Regions from separate parts of the Homo sapiens genome. Here region 1 is linked to region 2. The links are contacts of gene promoters, found by promoter capture Hi-C in human tissues and cell types (Jung and others, 2019). All regions are on one chromosome and are shown on one strand. Each heading gives the region's core, a stretch centred on a gene start or on the middle of the fragment in contact. The rest is flanking DNA. Distances are from core to core; before and after follow the strand shown.

Region 1 (5,376 bases), core at 478-2,977, 570 kb after region 2:
TCATAGAGCTTACCGTTTAATCTTTAACAGTGAGATGTAAGAGCTCCAACTATTGATTTCATTTATATTTAGAATTATGATTTGAGCTTTTTCTTCAGGATGCCAAACATTTTCAAGAAAACTACAATTAACGTGTTTCCCATTTTTTCCCATATATCACCGACACCTAAAGATTTGGGGACCTTGGGACTACTGATTTCTTTTCTCCAAAATACGCTTTTGGATGTTTATTGATAAGGGGACAGACTAAACTACTGTAATAAAGAAACAAACAAAAAGAGAGTGGCTCAAACAAAATAGAAGTTTATACCTCTCCCATGATAGCACAGGACTAACCAGGCACTTCTGCTTTAAGGGGTCACCCAGGGAGGCAAATTCTGTTTTGTTGTTCCATCTGCCACTATGCATAGTCCTTGTCTCTAGAGAGGAAGCTTTATCACCATTACATGCATGTTCCAGCCTGCAGGAAGGGGAAAAGAAAAGGGATGATGTGGAAGCCCAGCACTTACAGGATGTGAACTGAACTGTCATTTGTCCATGTGACTTCTACTTACAATCCACTGATCAGAGCTGGGTCACATCATCCCCTCTAGCTGTAGGAGAGGATGGGAAATAACAATGGCTGTTAGGTAGGAAGCCACACGTCTACAGATATGGGTAGGTTTCTTTTGAACGTCTTAGAATGTACATATCAGTAGCAACTCAGTAATTGTCTTTTCTAAAACCTGTTATCAATATGTGAGAAAATGTCAGAATGAGACCCATTCCAAATAAGGGAATTCATTGCAAAATTTTTCTGATGTATATAATGCATTATTAAGGCTACCTCACATTGGGCCCAGCTGAGGAATTTATAAAATTTTCAGAAGATATAACGTATCTATAATATAATCAATTGCAGACTGCTGCATAGAACAGAGAGGGAATGTGTCTGCTATAGTCCTTTAGTTGTTTGGGGTGGTGCACTGATTCATTCACTAAAAGTTTAAACCCTTGATTTTGATGATCTTGCAGGTAACACGCAATGTCATGACTGCAATTCTCAGCTTGCCTCCAGGCGACATCTATAACCTCTCAGTAACTGCTTGTACTGAAAGAGGAAGTAATACCTCCATGCTCCGCCTTGTCAAGCTAGGTAAGAAGAGTGCACAGAGATGGGTGTGAAATAATCACTAATGTTTGCATCATTCGATTCAGCAAGAGCTCCTCAATTCAATGAAATAATAACAGAAAAATGGCTAATTTTTTATGAGTAGAAAATAGACATTTGTACTAGCAAAAGGGTATGTTCAACTTGGTACAAGTTTCTGTGAGTGGGTTGTATACTGTTCTGGGAAACAGTGGTGTTCGCTGTTCTTTGTAAGGTTAAAGAAACCAGGTAGTCATAGGATTTTGGAGATGGAAGCACATTAGAGATTATCTAATGCAGTGTTCACAACCCTATAAGACAACATTCTATTTTCATATTAATATTATGTAATGCTCTCTTTAATATCTTAAATAGTAATGGATTTAAAAATCTACATATTGATTTTTTAAATTTTATATAGTTTCCCAACTCCAGAATAAAATCAAGACAAAAAGAAACTAATTTATAATAAAATAATATGGATTTCCTAAATATATGGTCAGACACAACTACTCTAAAAGACATAATGAAATTACCTGATGCCTAGATATAATTAAAATGAATAAGTTGGGGTTTATAAGAAATAAAAAGATCATTAGTCCTTCATATAAGAAGTATAAAAATAAGCAAAGAAATGAACAAGTTAATATAAATTGATAACAAATAACTAAACAAGCATAGATACAGGTAGATACTAGAATAAAAACTAGAGTTAAAATAAGTACTAAAAGATGAGATATATTTTCATATAATGAGAGAAAGATGGAAATAATTTTAATTAAAGTAGGGACAACACACCAAAAGTTTATAAATGGCAGCATAGAAGCAAGCTGGCTTCACTCCCCTCTACCCAACAGAAAACCAAAAGCAAATATACACTCTGAGATTTTCACCAGCAACAACCCAGAACTCAAATACGAGGATGCGACCGATTCCAGAGCCATAGAGAAGTGAAAATACTCTGGGCAGATGGTAGGAGAATCAGGCTTCCACATTCGTGACGCCTCCCCCGCGATTCTGCCTGGCAACAAGTGTGCAGAAAATCTTCTGCCAACTCATGTTTCTACACTGGAAAAAGTGAGGTTGAGGTAGTCAACTAGTTTCCCCACTATCTTGGGCTCCCTGGCAGGAAATCTGTCCTTGCCTTAACCCACAGGAAGCATCGTGACTGCCTGAAGGGAGAAATAGCTTGAGGATAGGCAGAAACAAAGAGATGAGATGGAACTACCATTCCCAGTCCCAGCAACTCTGCTCTGTAACTTGGCCAAAGGAGACACCAAATCAGAGTGGCTGTTCAGCAGCACCATACTGTAGGAGGTACATTTCACAGGTCCCTTGGGCATGAGCCCCCCAGCTAACTTTGACACACTGCCAGGATAATTCCTTTAAGACCTTTCTTTTTCAGGACAGGCAGAGCCAAGGCAAATCTGGACTTAAGGTGCCACCTAGAGCTGAAATGTAGGCAGTGATCTAGTGGTAAATATTTGCTAGGCAAACATAGCCAATAAAAGACAAAACAAGGCAAGGCAGACAAAGGAAAGTGGACTAAATAGTTAATTATTTAATGCAAAGACATAGTTCTATGCCCATAAGAAACAACATCAAACAGGGAACTGTGACCCGCCCACGCTACCCAGGAAAAGGACAAAGCAAAAATCCAATGACTGACCCTAACAAGATGGTGATCTGTGAGCTCTCTGAACAAGAATTCAAAATACAGTTTAAGGAAAATCAGTGATGTCCAGGAAAACACAGAAAAGCAATTCAGAAATTTATCAGAGAAATTTTTAAATCAAACAAATTCTTGGTACTGGAAAATACGTTTGCTGAACTGAAAAACACATCACAGCAGAATGGACAAAGGAGTGGAATGATTCAGGGAGCTAAAAGCCTATCTGAAAATACACCATTGGAGGAGAAAAAAGAAAAATAAGACTGAAAGTAAGTGAAGTCTGACTATAAGATATTAAAAAAAAAAGGCTGGGCACGGTGGCTCACACCTGTAATCCCAGCACTTTGGGAGGCCAAGGCGGGCAGATCACGAGGTCAGGAGATCAAGACCATCCTGGCTAACATGGTGAAACCCTGTCTCTAATAAAAATACAAAAAAAAAAAAAAAATTAGCCAGCATGGTGGCGGGTGCCTGTAGTCCCAGCTACTCGGGAGGCTGAGGCAGGAGAATGATGTGAACTCAGGAGGTGGAGCTTGCAGTGAGCCGAGATCGCACCACTGCACACCAGCCTGGGTGACAGAGCAAGAATCTGTCAAAAAAAAAAAAGGTATTAAAAAAACCTTAAAAGATCAAACATAAGAATTATTAGTATTCAAGGGGGAGCTGAATAAGGAAGTTTACTGAAAGAAATAATAATAGAAAACATTCCAAAACTTGAGACAGGTACAAATAGCCAGGTTCATGAGGGTCTGAGAATACCAAACAGATACCACTCAAATAAAATCACCCCAAAGCGTATAATACTCAGACTCTCAAAGGTCAAGGACAAAGAGAAGATCCTGAAAGCATCAAGAGAAAAGGAGCAAATAACAGGTAAACAAGCTGCAATTCACCTGGCAACAAACTGTACAGGCCATGAGGAAGAACATTTTTACAGTGCTCAAAGAAAAAAAACTGCCATCCAAGAATAATGTATCCAGCAAAATTGTCCTTCAAATATGAAGGAAAGATAAAGTATTTCTCAGAAAAACAAAAGATGAAAGAATTCACCACTACCAGACCTGTCATACAAGAAATGCAAGAGAGTTCTTCAATCTGAGAGAAAAAGACACATGCGAAAAGAAAACTTTTCAAGGTATTAGACCTTTGGGAAAATTAAATGCATGGACCAACCCAGGATATTCTGTTACTGTGATTGTGGTGTACAATCCATCCATAACTCTGGTATAAAGCCCAAAAGACAAATCTTTTAAAAATAATAATAGCTACAGCAACCTGTTAAGAGATAGGTAATGTAAAGCATGTAAATTGAGGCAACAAAGTCAAAATTGGGTGGTGGAGAGAGATGAAGTTAAATTTTTAGGTGTGGTAGTTTTGCTTTTGTTTCTATTCTTTTGCTCATGATCTAAGATAAGTTGTCATCTCTCTAAAGTAACTTGTTATGGCCAGGCATGGTGGCTCATGCCTGTAATCCAGCACTTTGGGAGGTCAAGGTTGGTGAATCGCTTGAGCCCAGGAATTCAAGACCTCATCTCTACTAAAAAAAAAAAAAAAGGAAAAAAAGAAAAGCTGGGTATGGTGACACATGCCTGTGGTCCCAGCTACTTGGGAGGCTGAGGCAGGAGGATCACTTTAGCCCAGGAGATTGAGGCTGCAGTGAGCTGTGAGCTGTGATTGTAACACTGCACTCCAGCCTGCATGACAGAGCAAGACCCCCATCTTAAAAATAAGCAAATAAATAAATAAACTTGTTAAATCTATAAGATTTTTTATAAGCCTTGTGGTAACCACAGCACAAAATCATATAATCAGTTCATTAAAAATAAAAAGCAACAAATTAATACATAACACTTAATAATCACTTAACCACAAAATATGAAGAGAGGATTCTCAAAACAATCTGAAAACAGGCAACAAAACGGCAGTAGTAAATCCGTACTTAGCAATAATAACACTGGATGTATATGGTCTCAATTCTCAATTAAAAGTCACAGTGTGGCTGAATGGATAAAGAAATAAGACCCAACTATATGCTGCCTTTGAGAAACCCACTTCACCTGTAAAGACACACAGGGACTGAAAGTGAAGGGGTGGAAAAAGATATTCCATGCAACTGGAAAACAAACAAGCAAAAAAGCAGATGTAGCTATGCTTATATTAGATAAAATGGACCACAAATCTAGAATTGTAAAAACAGACAAAGAGGGTTACTATATAATGATAAAGGGATCAGTTTAGCAAGAGGATATAACAATTATAAATATCTATGCACCCAACACTGGAGCTCCTAAGTAAATAAAGTAAACATTAATAGATCTAAAGGAACAGATAGACTTAATTACAGTGATAGGAGGGGACTTCAACACCCCACTCTCAGTAACGTATAGATCTTCCAACAGAATAACAACAAAGAAACAACAGAGTTAAACTACACATGAGACCCGATAGGCCTAATAGACATTTAAAGAACATTTCACCCAACTGCTATGGAATACACATTGTTTTCACTGCACATGGAACATTCTCCAGAATATATCATATCTTAGGACACAAAACAGGTCTCAACAAATTCAAA
Region 2 (5,264 bases), core at 1,499-3,998:
TATTGCACAGATAAATGTTGCTGACGTTTCAGGGGCAACATGAGACTCATCTCTGGGTATGCCAGTGTAGCCTTGAATACAGGATCCCGGGCAGCAATAACACAAACCAGGAATAAGAACTCTCAAAATATGGAATTGGAGAAAATTTCTTCCATGTGATTCTTCCTAAAGAATGTGGGAGATCACCTGAGCCTCAGGAGGTCGAGGCTGCAGTGAGCTGCGTTCACGCCCCTGCACTTCAGCTCGGGTGACAGAGTGAGACTTGTCTCAAAAAAATAATAATAGGCCATGCATGGTGGCTCACGCCTTTAATCCCAGGACTTTGGGAGGCCAAGGCAGGCGGATTGCTTGAGCCCAGGAATTCAAGACCAGCCCTGGCAACATGGAGAAACCCCGTCTCTACTAAAAATGGTAAAATTAGCCAGCGTGGTGATGCGCGCCTATAGTCCCAGCTACTCGGGAGGTTGAGGCGGGAGGATCACGTGAGCCTCCTGAGTAGGTAGGACCACAGGCACGCACCACCATGCCCTGTGAATTGCAATTCAGAGGCATTGTGGCTATTGATCCTTTTTGTATCAGTATGTAATTTTAGTCAAATTATTGAACACTTCTGCATTCTTCTCAGGAACAAAATTTGAAAGTTTTTATCACCAGGCCTGACACATAGAAGGCACTCAATGAATGTTGGTTCTCCTTTTCTATCTGCATAATTTCGACTCCCCAGGGCTTCTCTTTTCCTGCTAGCTGATGTTTGTCATGTACTGTGCTCTCCCAAATCAGCTCAGACCCGTATCTTTCCCTCAGAATGACTTTGTGGTGCTGAGTGTCTACTGAAAACAGAACCTTAATGTTGCTCAGAGCTAACTTCCCTAGGGGACAAACTCATGCTCTCCAAAGCAAGGAAGGACCAAATTCCAGTCGAGGCCTGAAAAATGCTTGCCAGTTTCTGTTCAGTGACAGCATAGTTAGTCCTCAGGTTTTGCATCTGTGAAGCATGGATGGAGAAAGAACTGTCTCTTAGAATTTCACACATCTCACAAAAGAGTAAGATGCTCTTGTTACTAAGCTTGTGCTATATCTGCTTTGGGAGGGAATATATTCTTACAAATTAAAAAAACACAAAGCCAATGGCAAGATTCACGATGCCTGCTAGGGACTGGACCTCTGCCCCCTGTCTCTCCGGACCAACAGGTGCCATGGTCCTCTTGATCTCCTGTGCCTGACCATCCCTGCAGTGAAGATGGCCAGGCCAACCCTGACTCCAGGGGCTCTAGGTCTCCATGTGAAGTGGTGACCATGAGCCCTCCGGGTGAGAGCAGTCTGCCTTTCCCCACTCTGAATGAAGAACTGCCCAGGGCTTGCCAGACACACACCTCAAGTTACCATAGGTCTAGAGTTTAATTACAGATTATGTTTATGAAACATGCTGGCTGGGAAGTCCTCTAAAAGGGAAGAAAGTATTTCAGGTCATACCTAAAGCACTTCTCCTAATGGTGGCTGAAATTCAGACCTTGACATTTTGAAGGCCCACTGATCAGCTGTCCTAGCTGGGCCCCCTTGAATTTTTCTCAAACCTGTCTCTTAATACGTTATTTGGTGTTTTCCATGTTTGCTGTTAGTTATCTCATACCTAAAGGGCTATTATCATTATTAATATTTTTATTTTTTGAGCCAGAGTTTCGCTCTTGTTGCCCATGCTGGAGTGCAATGGCGTGATCTTGGCTCACTGCAACCCCTGCCTCCTGGGTTCAAGTGATTCTCCTGCCTCAGCCTCCCAAATAACTGGGATTACAGGGATGCACCACCACACCCAGCTAATTTTGTATTTTCAGTAGAGATGGGGTTTCACCATGTTGGTCAAGCCGGTCTTGAACTCCTGACCTCAGGTGATCTACCCGCCTCGGCCTCCCAAAGTGCTGGGATTGCAGGCGTGAGCCACCACGCCCAGCCCTATTATTATTTTTGACAACAACAGCAAAGATCTGCCCATCCGACTGCAGGAATTTAATACACAGCCTTTGTCAGTGGTAGAAATTCTATCACTGTATGACTCATGAGTACATAACAATGTGCTATACCATACTTCCTCTTTGAGGGATAAAGCCCCTGCACTCTAAGGGAGGATTTCATTATGCATTTCTCTTATATCACCAGAAAATTATTTAGTGGAAGACAGTTTAATATTTGACAGCTTTGAACCATTTTTTTTTCTCTTTCAACCAGTCTTTTTACATTGTCTGCTTAAAAACAGGAAACCACATATCTCCACCCCAGCACAACCCACCATCCACCAGCACAGACCGTATCATTTTGGATCTACAGTCTTTTTCTTCCAAGCCTGGCCAGGTGCCTGCTCCTACTTTGCAGGAAACCCCTCCAGGCACTCCCGGTGCGTGTTCTCAGAGCCCTTCTGAGAATATTCAGGATTGCACTTCCTGGGCTGCAGCGCACCCTGTACCCTCCTTTTTTAAGCCTCCTCCCCTGAGTCACTGCTACCCTTCCCTCCTCTAACTTCCCCTTCTCTGCAGCCTCCTTAGCAATTTCTTATCATAAAGTTTGTTTTAAAGAAGAACTGCCCCTCTAAAAAAATAATAAACTGTCGAGGGCGGTAGCCCCGTCTAGAGGTTTCCGACTTTGCTCTGTGCCCACCTGAAGCCTCCCCAGCCCGAGGTATTTGAACTTACATTCAGTGCTTCACGTCTCTGTCCGGGGTGCCTCTGTCTCTCAACTCTGACTTCTGAGTACTGGCAGTTAGAACAGGAAGGAAGTCAATGAGAAAAAAAAATGTTTTAGACCTACTTGAAGAGGAAACCCTGGGCTGTCTCAAATCCTGTTCCTTTGCACTGCCTATCTCTTGATCAGCCAACTTGAGCAGCATTCTTGTCAATTAATGGCACATGTGCGAGCATGACAGCCCGTGTGACGTGGAGATGCATGAATGTACACGCAAGAGTGTGGAGCCTATAGCTATGGGTATTATGAATAATTGTGAGGGTATTTCTGATAATCAGGTCATTGCAGTGCATAAGCCTATGGAGGTAAGGAGCCTGAAACCAGTAGCAATAAATTCACATCGGCTTTACTTTGTACCACTCACTTCTGTTCCCACTGGGTCCCCGCCAGCTTCATTATCAACCAGATACGTTGAAAGTTTGCTGGCAGTGAATGTAGAGTGCTAAGAAATGATGATTGTTAACTGCATATACTACGGTCCTAAATTTAAAAATGTGTCCTTAAACAGATTTTTGGAGTTTTGTTGGTTATAATTTCAAGACGTAGCTTTGTATTGCACTACAAACAGTCAAATATTGTTTTTAATAGTTTTGGCTGATTTTTCTTCAAATGAAACAAACAAGCAAGCGAAAGTACTGTCTTTGATGAAACCTAGGAAAGAAATTACAAAAGGAAGTAAAACTTCATTAATTCATAGTCTTCCAACTCAGAATTTGTGACAACTTAACAAGTGCCAAAATAGACTTTGTACCATATTTGAGGAAATGGTTTATGAAGTAATTTAAATGGGAACAAGTCTCGGAGGCCATGTTTAAACCATCTGAGGAACAGTTTTTAAGCAGCCAAGTCACATTCATGCTGTATATTCCCGTAGCTGTTACCAATAATAAATGCTTATTTAGGTTAATATTTCAATATTCAGTATTTACACTACATCAATATATTTAGATCTGACTAAGCACACAAATTTGGAGAAACTGACGTTTATTTTGTTTTCACCTAAATGTACTGCATCTTCTTCATTTCCCTTTGTAAATTGATACCACAGGGTTTGCCTTCTACTTAGAGTCAATGAAATCGGAATAATCAAGGGAGTCATTTCACGTGAGAAGAGATTAGCCTAGAAAAATATGAAAAGGAAAATAGTATATAATTAAAATGAGCAAAAATACTAAAAGCCTAATACCACTTTATTCTATAAATTTTAAAATAGCATAGACAGAATACAGCCCTTGAAACAATGTACATAACTTTATTGTAAAAACAAAGCAAACCCTAATTTACACAGAAGGCAGTAACTTACACATTCTATAGCTCTGCACCCTCAAGAGGGGATACATTTATTCATTCCATAACATTTATCGAGCACCTCTTTTCTTTCAAGTACTGTTCTAGTTCCCTTGTGCAGCAATAGACCGCAGGCGACATCTCTGCTGCCCTGTGGAACTTATGTTGTACCTAGGAGACAATTAAAATAACACAGGCAGAATACATTAATTGTAACAAGAAATATTTAAAAATGAAAAATGGTAAATGCATGGTCTCTATTCCACCACTCATTTCTCATGTTATTAGGGAACACCTCACTAGGCAAACCTGGCTTTTTTTTTCCCTCCAGAGCCCAGTGTATATCGGAGGGTATGGGAGCACCCCTTCCCAGAAAAATCTGTAAAATCAATACATATTTTACAGATTTGTATTATAGATTAATGTATTTATTGGGGGATGAGAGAGCATTCATAATTTTAGAAAGTTCTAAAAGGACTCCAATTATCAAAATATACTTAATTCCTGGTCATATGCAAGGAGCCACGGAAAGGTACAGAAATAAACAAGACACAGTCCTAGACCTCAAGTAGCTAAAAGATGTAATGGGGAAGACAGAAGCAGACAAATTTAATTTTTTTTTTGTCAGCATAGGAAAAGAAAAAATACATGGTGTGTTTTGAGAGTACATGTAAGGACATCAAGGAAGGCTTTTTGGAGGAAGTGACCACTGCGCTCAGTTAAGAGGGAGAGTAGGTTTTGAGTAGTTGATGAGCGAAGGGTTGGGAGTGAAAGAGAAGGCACTCGAGGTAGAGGAGAAACATGAGCAGCAACACGGCCCTGGCCTCCCAAAATGATGTGGGATATGCAGGGTATTATAAGCAAGCAGCTCAAGATTGTTGGAATGTAAAGTGGAAGTTACATGTGAATGAGAAATATACCTAGAGCAGGGCAGGCACAGTGTTCAGATCACCACGGACCTCTTATGCCATGTTAATAACGAACTCGGCCTAGATCCTATCAGTGATGGGGAACTGTTGAAAGTAAAGGATGGACATGATTGTTTTGCATTTCACTTAGTTTACTCTGGCAAACTGATGTGGTTGGATTTGATGTGAATAAAATCTATTAGGAGACTGTTTAGGCTTGAACACTCATAATGAGATAGACAGAAATGGTCAGATTTGAGAAATATTTAGGTGAAATTGGCATGCCCTGGTAATTGGTGGGATGTGAAGGATGAGGATGAGGAGGACTGTGGAATC

What was found. The method cuts DNA at HindIII sites, captures the fragments that hold promoters and counts their contacts. A contact is called where the count stands out against the background at its distance.
Region 1: a fragment that was not itself captured here is called in contact with the fragment with the promoter of ARHGDIB in region 2 in 1 of the 25 tissues and cell types used here (H1 embryonic stem cells).

What each region holds. Positions count from the first base shown.
Region 1 is chr12:15,525,128-15,530,503 of GRCh38, forward strand. It overlaps PTPRO (protein tyrosine phosphatase receptor type O), which reads left to right. Exons shown (of 27, transcript NM_030667.3): 12 at 1,015-1,135. Among named protein-coding and RNA genes, the nearest start is that of PTPRO, 210 kb to the left of the region's middle. RefSeq lists enhancers at 431-1,630, 1,159-1,228. The HindIII fragment of the contact is 4,719 bases long and covers 1-4,087 here.
Region 2 is chr12:14,958,853-14,964,116 of GRCh38, forward strand. It overlaps ARHGDIB (Rho GDP dissociation inhibitor beta), which reads right to left and starts at 2,749. Exons shown (of 6, transcript NM_001175.7): 1 at 2,685-2,749. RefSeq lists enhancers at 1,092-1,201, 2,452-2,571. The HindIII fragment of the contact is 9,154 bases long and covers 1-5,264 here.